Regions from separate parts of the Homo sapiens genome. Here regions 1 and 2 are each linked to region 3. The links are contacts of gene promoters, found by promoter capture Hi-C in blood cells and fetal thymus (Javierre and others, 2016). All regions are on one chromosome and are shown on one strand. Each heading gives the region's core, a stretch centred on a gene start or on the middle of the fragment in contact. The rest is flanking DNA. Distances are from core to core; before and after follow the strand shown. Region 1 overlaps CUL4B (cullin 4B). Region 2 overlaps CUL4B (cullin 4B). Region 3 holds the start of C1GALT1C1 (C1GALT1 specific chaperone 1).

Region 1 (2,700 bases), core at 127-2,626, 100 kb after region 3:
GCCCACAGCCTCCCAAAGTGCTGGGATTACAGGCATGAGCCACTGCACCTGTCCAGTATTCTTTTAAATAGTGATTTTTTTTTTTTTTGAGATGGAGTCTTCTTGCTCTGTCACCCAGGTTGGAGTGCAGTGGCGCGATCACGTTTCACTACAACCTCCACCTCCCGGGTTCAAGCAATTCTCCTGCCTCAGTCTCCCTGGTAGCTGAGACTACAGGCGCCCACCACCACACCTGGCTAATTCTTGTATTTTTAGTACAGATGGGGTTTTGCCATGTTAGCCAGTCTGGTCTCAAACTTCTGACCTCAGGTGATCCACCCATCTTAGCCTCCCAAAGTGCTGGGATTACAGGCATGAGCCACCACACCCGGTCTAAATAGTGATTTCATCAGTACGTTTTAAATCTTAATTTATAAAAATGAAGCCAACTAACTCTTGCCCAAAGTAAAGGTGTGCTTCATGAACTATCTTGACAAAACTAGTATTCTGTGTCCTTAAACTACCTTACAGTGCTCATGTGAAGTTACAATAAATGTAGTCTTTTGTATTTAACCACGCGAAGGGTAGCTGCTTCTGGCATGACCTCTTTAAAATAGAAAAGTAATAGAAAGTATTCCGTAACAATATGACAAGGATGTGACAGTTTAATGTATGTATAGTATATAGTACAGGTTGAACACCTTTAATGAGAATCCAAAATCTGAAATGCTCTAAAATTGGAAACTTTGAATGCCAACATGATGCCACAGGTGGAAAATTCCACACTTTACCTCATTTGACAGGTTGCAGTCAAAACTTTGTTTCATGCACAAAAGGTATAAAATTATCTTCAGGCTATGTAAGGTATGTATGAAACATAGATGAATTTTGTGTTTAGACTTGGGTCCCATCTCCATGGTATCTCACTATGTATATGCAAATATACCAAAATGAAAAAGTCAGGACCAGGCATGGTAGCTCACACCTGTGAGTACTGGGATTCCAGTACTTTGGGAGGCTGAGGCTGGGGGGATTACTCCAGAACAAGAGTTTAAGGTCAGCCTGGGCGACATAGCAAGACCCTGTCTATTAAAAAAATTAAAAGCTCCAAAAAAAAATCAAAAATCAAAAACACTTTTGGCGTTAAAGAATCTTCAACATACCTGGGCACGGTGGCTCATCCCTGTAATCCCAGCACTTTGGGAGGCTGAGGCAGGTGGATCACCTGAGGTCAGGAGTTCAAGACCAGCCTGGCCAATATGGTGACACCCCATCTCTACCAAAAATACAAAAATTAGCCAGGCGTGGTGGCTTGTGTCTAGTCCCAGCTACTCGGGAAGCTGAGGCAGAAGAATCACTTGAACCCAGGAGGTGGAGGTTGCAGTGAGCCAAAGTGGTGCCACTGCAGTCCAGCCTGGGTGACAGAGCGAGACTCCGTCTCAAAAAAAAAAAAAAAGAATCTTCAACGTGTATAAAACATTTTTTAACCTGGTTTATTTTCATGATACTTTTCTCTAAAAAAGAGATTTAAATAAATAAAAATTTTAAAAAAGGAGATTAAATTCATGAGCCGAAACTGTTGTCTTTTTAATGGGGTATTAACTAAATGGGCTTGAGCCAATGATAATGAACTTTACATTGAAAATTTGCCTTCTCTTACAGCCTGCTGATCTTAAGAAGAGAATAGAATCTTTAATTGACCGGGACTACATGGAAAGAGATAAAGAAAATCCAAACCAGTACAACTATATTGCATAGAATGTTGGCCTTGCAGCATTTGGTGTCATATGCAGTAGCCAGTGGATAAACTAACCTGTTGATTCAATATTATTTGACTCCTTTTTTACTACCGATGACCAAATGAAGCAGTGTAATTAATGGAAATAGTTGAGTGGACTTTTTCTCAGTGGTTAACATGCCCATTTTAAAGAGTAATACTTACCTTTAAGAAGAATGTTGTTGAACTCTTTGCATGTTATTTAGTATGATGTGCAGAAAACACTTAAGAACGTACCTGGTCTTCATGAATTCCTCTTTGGAACTGGGAAAGAGATCCCTGTGGCTATTAAAAAGGGGGGAGGGTTCTTACACACCATTAATTATGAAGCAAAAGGTTTATTTGCTTAAAATGTCATTTAAAGATACTTAAACTGCATGCAAACTTTATTTACTGTACAGAGTTCTGGATGTATTTATCAAATAGAAAAACCACCCTTGACTTGGTTGTTCACCCGTTTTGTGATTTCCCTTGAAAAGAGAAATGAATTGTCATAGCTATTGATATTTTACTAGGTGATGTTCTGTTACACTGAAAGGGATGTTTTTTAAAAAAAATTATTTGGAAACAAGTTTTCAAGTAGGGGGACAGTTGCTTACATAATATCTTGTATATTCACATCCTAAAAATTTTCATTTATGAGTATGGGATGTGTGTATATGGCTTAGCCCCAAGTTAACTGTGCTGATTAACAAGTACTTATAAAAATAGCTAAAGTAGAAAATTAATGATCAGTTGTACTAGAGGAACATCATAGAAGAGAAAAATCCAACTCTTTATATTAAAAATGAATACAATAAGAAAATTGCAAAAGAGACCAAAATGAACGTGTTTTGTAAATTGTTACAGGAGCAAAAACTTTGCAACTAGTTTTCAACATACTTTAGACTTTAAATGTTGTTTGGACAGTTTTGTCTTCAACTTGGACCAATTGTAGATTGTTA
Region 2 (2,700 bases), core at 11-2,510, 83 kb after region 3:
ACTGCCCAACCCATCTGATACATAAACAACAGGTGAAATTCTTTTTTAAACCCAAAATGAAGCTCTGCTTGTGAAAATGATTAACATTTTAAACAAGACAGCTTTTTTATTTTTGAGACAAGGTCTCACTTTGTCCCCAGGCTAGAGTGCAGTGGCGTAGTCATGGTTCACTTCAACCTTGAACTCTTGGGCTCAAGTGATCCTCCTGCCTCAGCCTCCTAAATAGCTGGAACTACAGGTACACACCACTGGGCCCAGCTAATTTTTAAATTTTTTGTAGAGATGGGGTCTTGCTTTGTTTCTGTATTAGTCAGGGTTTTCTTAGAGGGACAGAACTACAGAACTAGTAGGAGATATATATAAAGGGGAGTTTATTAAGTGTTAAGTTACACGATCACAAGGTCCCACAATAGGCTGTCTGCAAGCTGAGGAGTAAGGAGAGCCAGGTTGATTCCCAAAACTGAAGAACTTGGAGTCTGATGTTCGAGGGCAGGAAGCATCCAGCATGGGAGAAAGATGTAGGCTGGGAGGCTAGGCCCTTCTCTCCTTTTCACTTTTTTTGGCCTGCTTTATATTCACTGGAAGCTGATTAGATTGTGCCCACCAGGTTAAGGATGGATCTGCCTTCCCCAGCCCACTGACTCAAATGTTAATCTCTTTTGGCAACACCCTCACAGACACACCCAGGATCAATACTTTGTATCCTTCAATCCAATCAAGTTGACACTCAGTAGTAACCATCACAGTTGCCTAGGCTGTTCTAGCCTGGCATCAAGCAATCCTCTCACCTTGGCCCCCCAAAATGTTGGGATTACAGGCATGAACCACTGTACCCAGCCCAAGTAGGATTTTCTTTGAGCAGCATGTTGGCACTCAAAAAGTTTCAGATTTTTGAGCTTTTTGGATTTCAGATTTTTAGATTAAAGATGCTAAACCTGTAATTTGTTCTTTTTTGATACAGTGCATTGGTTATGAGAAAGTTTGCCACCCACATTGATATATTTTGTTGTTTTACCTTGTGTCTTAAGTGGATGAATAACCCTTTTTAATAAGCTGATGTGGTAGAAATATCAAATTAATAAGAATCTGATGTAAATAGTTGAGAAATCCTTCATCCTCTCCTTAAGAAAGTATTTTAACCTTGCAGGCTGTAGAAAATCTCTGTTCTTACAAGATTTCTGCAAACTTGTACAAACAGCTGAGACAGATCTGCGAAGATCACATCAAAGCACAGATTCATCAATTCAGAGAATATCCTTTTTAAAACAAAAAATCGTGAATAGTTTTGTCTTCCTCTCTGTCCCTACCCCTCACTGTTTAACCCAGCTTGAAGTAGAATGCCTGTATTTTGTAGGTTTGTCATTTTTTGTGCCTTGTGTTTCTCGAGAAAGAAACACATTTTGACTTTTCAGCCTTAATTCGTGTCCAGGACTACGTGTGGTATTCATGTAAATAAGATGTCCTTATGTCTTTATCCTTTTTGCCCTATCAGATTTCCACTTGAGGAAAAATAATCTCCTAAGGGAAATAGTAAACTGAAAACACGATGTTCAGTTATGTCTAAGACTTGTTTTTAAAGGTGTTTTTTAGTATAAACTATGTTTTTTTTTTCTTTTACAAATTAGGAAATAGCACTTTGGTGCATAATCAAGTGCCATTTAGTTTCACTTAGTGTGCAAGGTATTCATGTTTAAGACTAATATGCTCTCTGTCACATGGCACATATGACTTGTACCAAACGCTTTAAAATATCCTTAACATATGTTTCAGGGATTCATTGGATAGCGTTCTTTTTTTAAAGAAGATTGATAGATGCTGGCAAAACCATTGCAGACAAATGGTAAGCTGGAAAAAGTATTGTATTTCGGCTAAACATTGTATTAATAGTTAAAAACATTTCTTCAAATACAGGAATGTTAGTTTTTAAAACTTAGCAATAGGGAGATTGCTTCAATATCTATTCCTTTTCTTTTTTTTTCTTTTTTTAAAAATTTATTTATTTTTTATTTTCCCGTAAGTTATTGGGGTACAGGTGACATTTGGTTACATGAGTAAGTTCCTTAGTGGTGATTTGTAAGATTTTGGTGCACCCTTCACCAGAGCAGTATACATTGCACCATTGTAGTCTTTTATCCCTCGCCCCCCTCCCACTCTTCCTCCCAAGTTCCTTTTCTGAATTGGAAACTAGTTTTGGTTGAGTTTTCTATTTTAAAACCACAAGTTACAGGTAAACCTGCATTTCAGAATGTCTTGCACCTTAGGTTCATTTTTATTTTTGTCACACTTACCAAAAATGTATTTATCTCATTCATTAAAAAGCTACATTTCGTCTGTCACTCTTATTTTTTTTTCTCTCTTGATGATTATCCTGTCCACTATTTGATTACCTGTGAAGGTGCCTGATGGTCCTGTGTTTTAGTTTATTCAGATAACAACCTTTTCCATTTTTCTTAATCTGGTTTATACCTTATATTCTACAGATTAAAATCTTAAAATCCATCACCCCTCCCCACCCCCACCCCCTGCCAATAAAAACCCTCACATGTGCAATGTAAGGCAGCTTCATTCCCTAGCACTGTGGCGCAGGAAGAATTATATGAGCGTCCCCTTGATTTTTCAGTTACTTCTCAAGCAGTAAATCAGAGGGCCATTTTAAGTGTCTTTTTTCTAGAAAACACAAAAAGGATTGACTGTTGAGTA
Region 3 (2,700 bases), core at 122-2,621:
GCCACTAGGGAGGCTGAGGCAGGAGAATCACTTGAACCCGGGAGGCAGAGGCTGCAGTGAACCGAGATCCCGCCATTGCACTCCAGCCTGGGCAAAAAGAACGAAACTCGGTCTCAAAAAAAAAAAAAAAAAAAAGAGACACATCAAATATTTCGTGGAAAGAGAGCTCTGCACTCTTAATTAGAAGACCTGGGGGCCGTGCGCAGTGGCTCAAGCCTGTAATCCCAGCACTTTGGGAGGCCGAGGCGGGTGGATCACCTGAGGTCAGGAATTCAAGACCAGCCTGGCCAACCCCGTCTCTACTAATAATACAAAAATTAGCCGGGCGTGGTGGCGGGCGTCTGTAATCCCAGCTGCTAGGGAGGCTGAGGTAGAAGAATCGCTTGAACCCGGGAGGCAGAGGTTGCAGTGAGCCGAGATCGTGCCATTGCACTCCAGCCTGGGCAACAAGAGTGAAACTCCGTCTCAAAAAAAAAAAAAAAAGAGACCTGGATTCCAGTCCCACCTCTGCCATTAACTTGCTGTGTGGACTTTTGAAATTTCCTTATCCTTTTTAGGCCTGGTTCCTCAGCTGTAGTTCTAATATTCATTAATTCCACTAATATTTACTGTCCACTGCGTGCTGGCACTGTGGTTAAGTACTAGAAATACTGGGGTGAATAATAACAGCCAGTACTTTTTAGTAAATGCTTACTCTAGGCTTGAAATTTTGCTAAGGGAGTCATATGCACTATCTCATCTAATTTTCTATGAAATAGGCACTACTGTGACATTTTCTGTACTTTACAAATGAGGGAACTGAGGCACAGCGAGGTGAAATAACTTTCCTGGGATATCAAAAGGTGTGGTGAAGACAGGATTGGATTCCAGGCAGTGGGGCTTCAGATCTCATTCCAGTAATAATAGGAAACCGTTGGTGTCATAATTACGTGACTATTTCAGTGGCTTGCGTTTTGGTCTCAGCCCAGGAGTACTGGGGGGGTGGGCAATATGAGGGTTCAAGGACGCAGGGGTACATCAGAGAAACCATCAAGAGGTCTGATAAAAAGCGACACCGGGAGCAAGAATCTCTCGCTCTCGCAATTTCCATGCCAGGAAGGTGAAATGGGAGGTGTCAGCGAGTCGTACGCACGGCCTCTTCTCTGGACGCCCGTTGGGTAAAGGAGAGCGTCCGGGTCACGCAGGCCTATAGCAAGTCTCTGAACTCGGCAGGGGGCGGGGAGAAAGGGCACGCAGTGTGCGCGCAGCGGGCGCGCCGGCCCTTCCGACGCCTGCGCGGGCGGGCAAACGGACGGCTCCGCCCAGCCGCCGGCTCCTTTACCCCGCCCCACTACCCCCGCCTTCGCGGCGCTCGTTTCCTGGCGCTCCCCACCTTTAGCGAGACCAACGAGAGAACACCGCCTGCAGCTAGAACAGCCTGGTCAGGAGCGTAACGGAGTGGTGCGCCAACGTGAGAGGAAACCCGTGCGCGGCTGCGCTTTCCTGTCCCCAAGCCGTTCTAGACGCGGGTGAGTGGCGGGGCCTCGACCCCCACCCCAAGCGCACCCTGACTCCCCTCCCTCTCTTGGGGGAGGCCTGGGCCCCAGCCCTCTCCCAGCATGCTCCACGCGGGATGCTTGGGCAGGTGCAGCGGGAGGATTGTCAGCACAGGAGACCGAGAGTCTTCTTCCTGGGGGCGCTCTCTTGGTCCCTCAGAGGGATATCGAGGTTACCATGTCCTCCCTCTCACTTCTCTTCCCTATTTCGTCTTCGTTTTCCGTACTTCACCCCAACTACCTTCACCCAAAAAGGTTCATCTAAAAACCATTGGGGTAGTTTCTGTTTCATTTGTGCTCGTGTGCAGTTTTGTTTCCTTCTGCACAAAGTATCCTATCATATGCATCCCTAGTGTTATATTTTTTGCCTCTGTGATGGGGAAAAAATCTCCTTAGAATAATTTTTGCAAATTATTTTATTTAAAATGTGTAGACTTACTGAGTTTTGATCACTATTTTTGCAGCCAGGAGTAGGATCACCATCAGGAAGAATTCTGACACATATGCCATAATTGAGCAAAGAAACATGTGAATTATGTATTGGCCAGAAATAATGAAAACTGCGTGACATGAAATACAAAAATCCTATATAAATTAATCTTAGAGTGCACCTGACAATTCTTTTTCTTTTTTCTTTCTTTCTTTCTTTTTTTTTTTTGAAACAGAGTCTCGCTCTTGTTGCCCAGGCCGGAGTGCTGTGGTGCGATCTTGGCTCACTGCCTGCAACCTCCGCCTCCCGGGTTCAAGCAATTCTCCTGCCTCAGCCTCCTGAGTAGCTGGGATTACAGTCATATGCCACCATGCCCGGCTAATTTTTGTATTTTTAGTCGAGACAGGGTCTCACCATGTTGGCCAGGCTGGTCTTGAACTCCCTACCTCAGGTGATCCACCTGCCTCGGCCTCCCAAAGTGCTGGGATTACAGGCGTGAGCCACCGCACACAGCCGACAATTCTAATATTATGCCGAGCTTGTTTTCTGTCACTTCTCTTCTTGGAACTGTGTTTATTGACCAAGTTCTGTGAGTGACACAGGAAAGTCTTCCTGCCTCTTGCCCCACCCACCGCTCAGAAATTACATCTGCCAAGCTATTCCACACCTTGTCTTTCTGGTAGAAGTCAAAATTCCATTTCCTCTAGCAGAAAACCACAGGAGTGGTTTCCTTGT

The links. The method cuts DNA at HindIII sites, captures the fragments that hold promoters and counts their contacts. A CHiCAGO score of 5 or more calls a contact.
Region 1: a fragment that was not itself captured here is called in contact with the fragment with the promoter of C1GALT1C1 in region 3 in 1 of 17 cell types (neutrophils); the score reaches 5.3 in neutrophils.
Region 2: a fragment that was not itself captured here is called in contact with the fragment with the promoter of C1GALT1C1 in region 3 in 8 of 17 cell types (neutrophils, naive CD4 T cells, total B cells and 5 more); the score reaches 8.0 in neutrophils.

The regions. Positions count from the first base shown.
Region 1 is chrX:120,525,798-120,528,497 of GRCh38, reverse strand. It overlaps CUL4B (cullin 4B), which reads left to right. Exons shown (of 20, transcript NM_001079872.2): 20 at 1,642-2,700. The coding sequence ends at 1,737. Among named protein-coding and RNA genes, the nearest start is that of CUL4B, 34 kb to the left of the region's middle. The HindIII fragment of the contact is 3,448 bases long and covers 1-2,700 here.
Region 2 is chrX:120,545,687-120,548,386 of GRCh38, reverse strand. CUL4B (cullin 4B) reads left to right here. Exons shown (of 20, transcript NM_001079872.2): 3 at 1,148-1,251; 4 at 1,771-1,840. Among named protein-coding and RNA genes, the nearest start is that of CUL4B, 14 kb to the left of the region's middle. The HindIII fragment of the contact is 4,280 bases long and covers 1-2,700 here.
Region 3 is chrX:120,628,725-120,631,424 of GRCh38, reverse strand. C1GALT1C1 (C1GALT1 specific chaperone 1) reads left to right here and starts at 1,371. Exons shown (of 2, transcript NM_001011551.3): 1 at 1,371-1,508. RefSeq lists a silencer at 1,134-1,403 and an enhancer at 1,063-1,990. The HindIII fragment of the contact is 14,165 bases long and covers 1-2,700 here.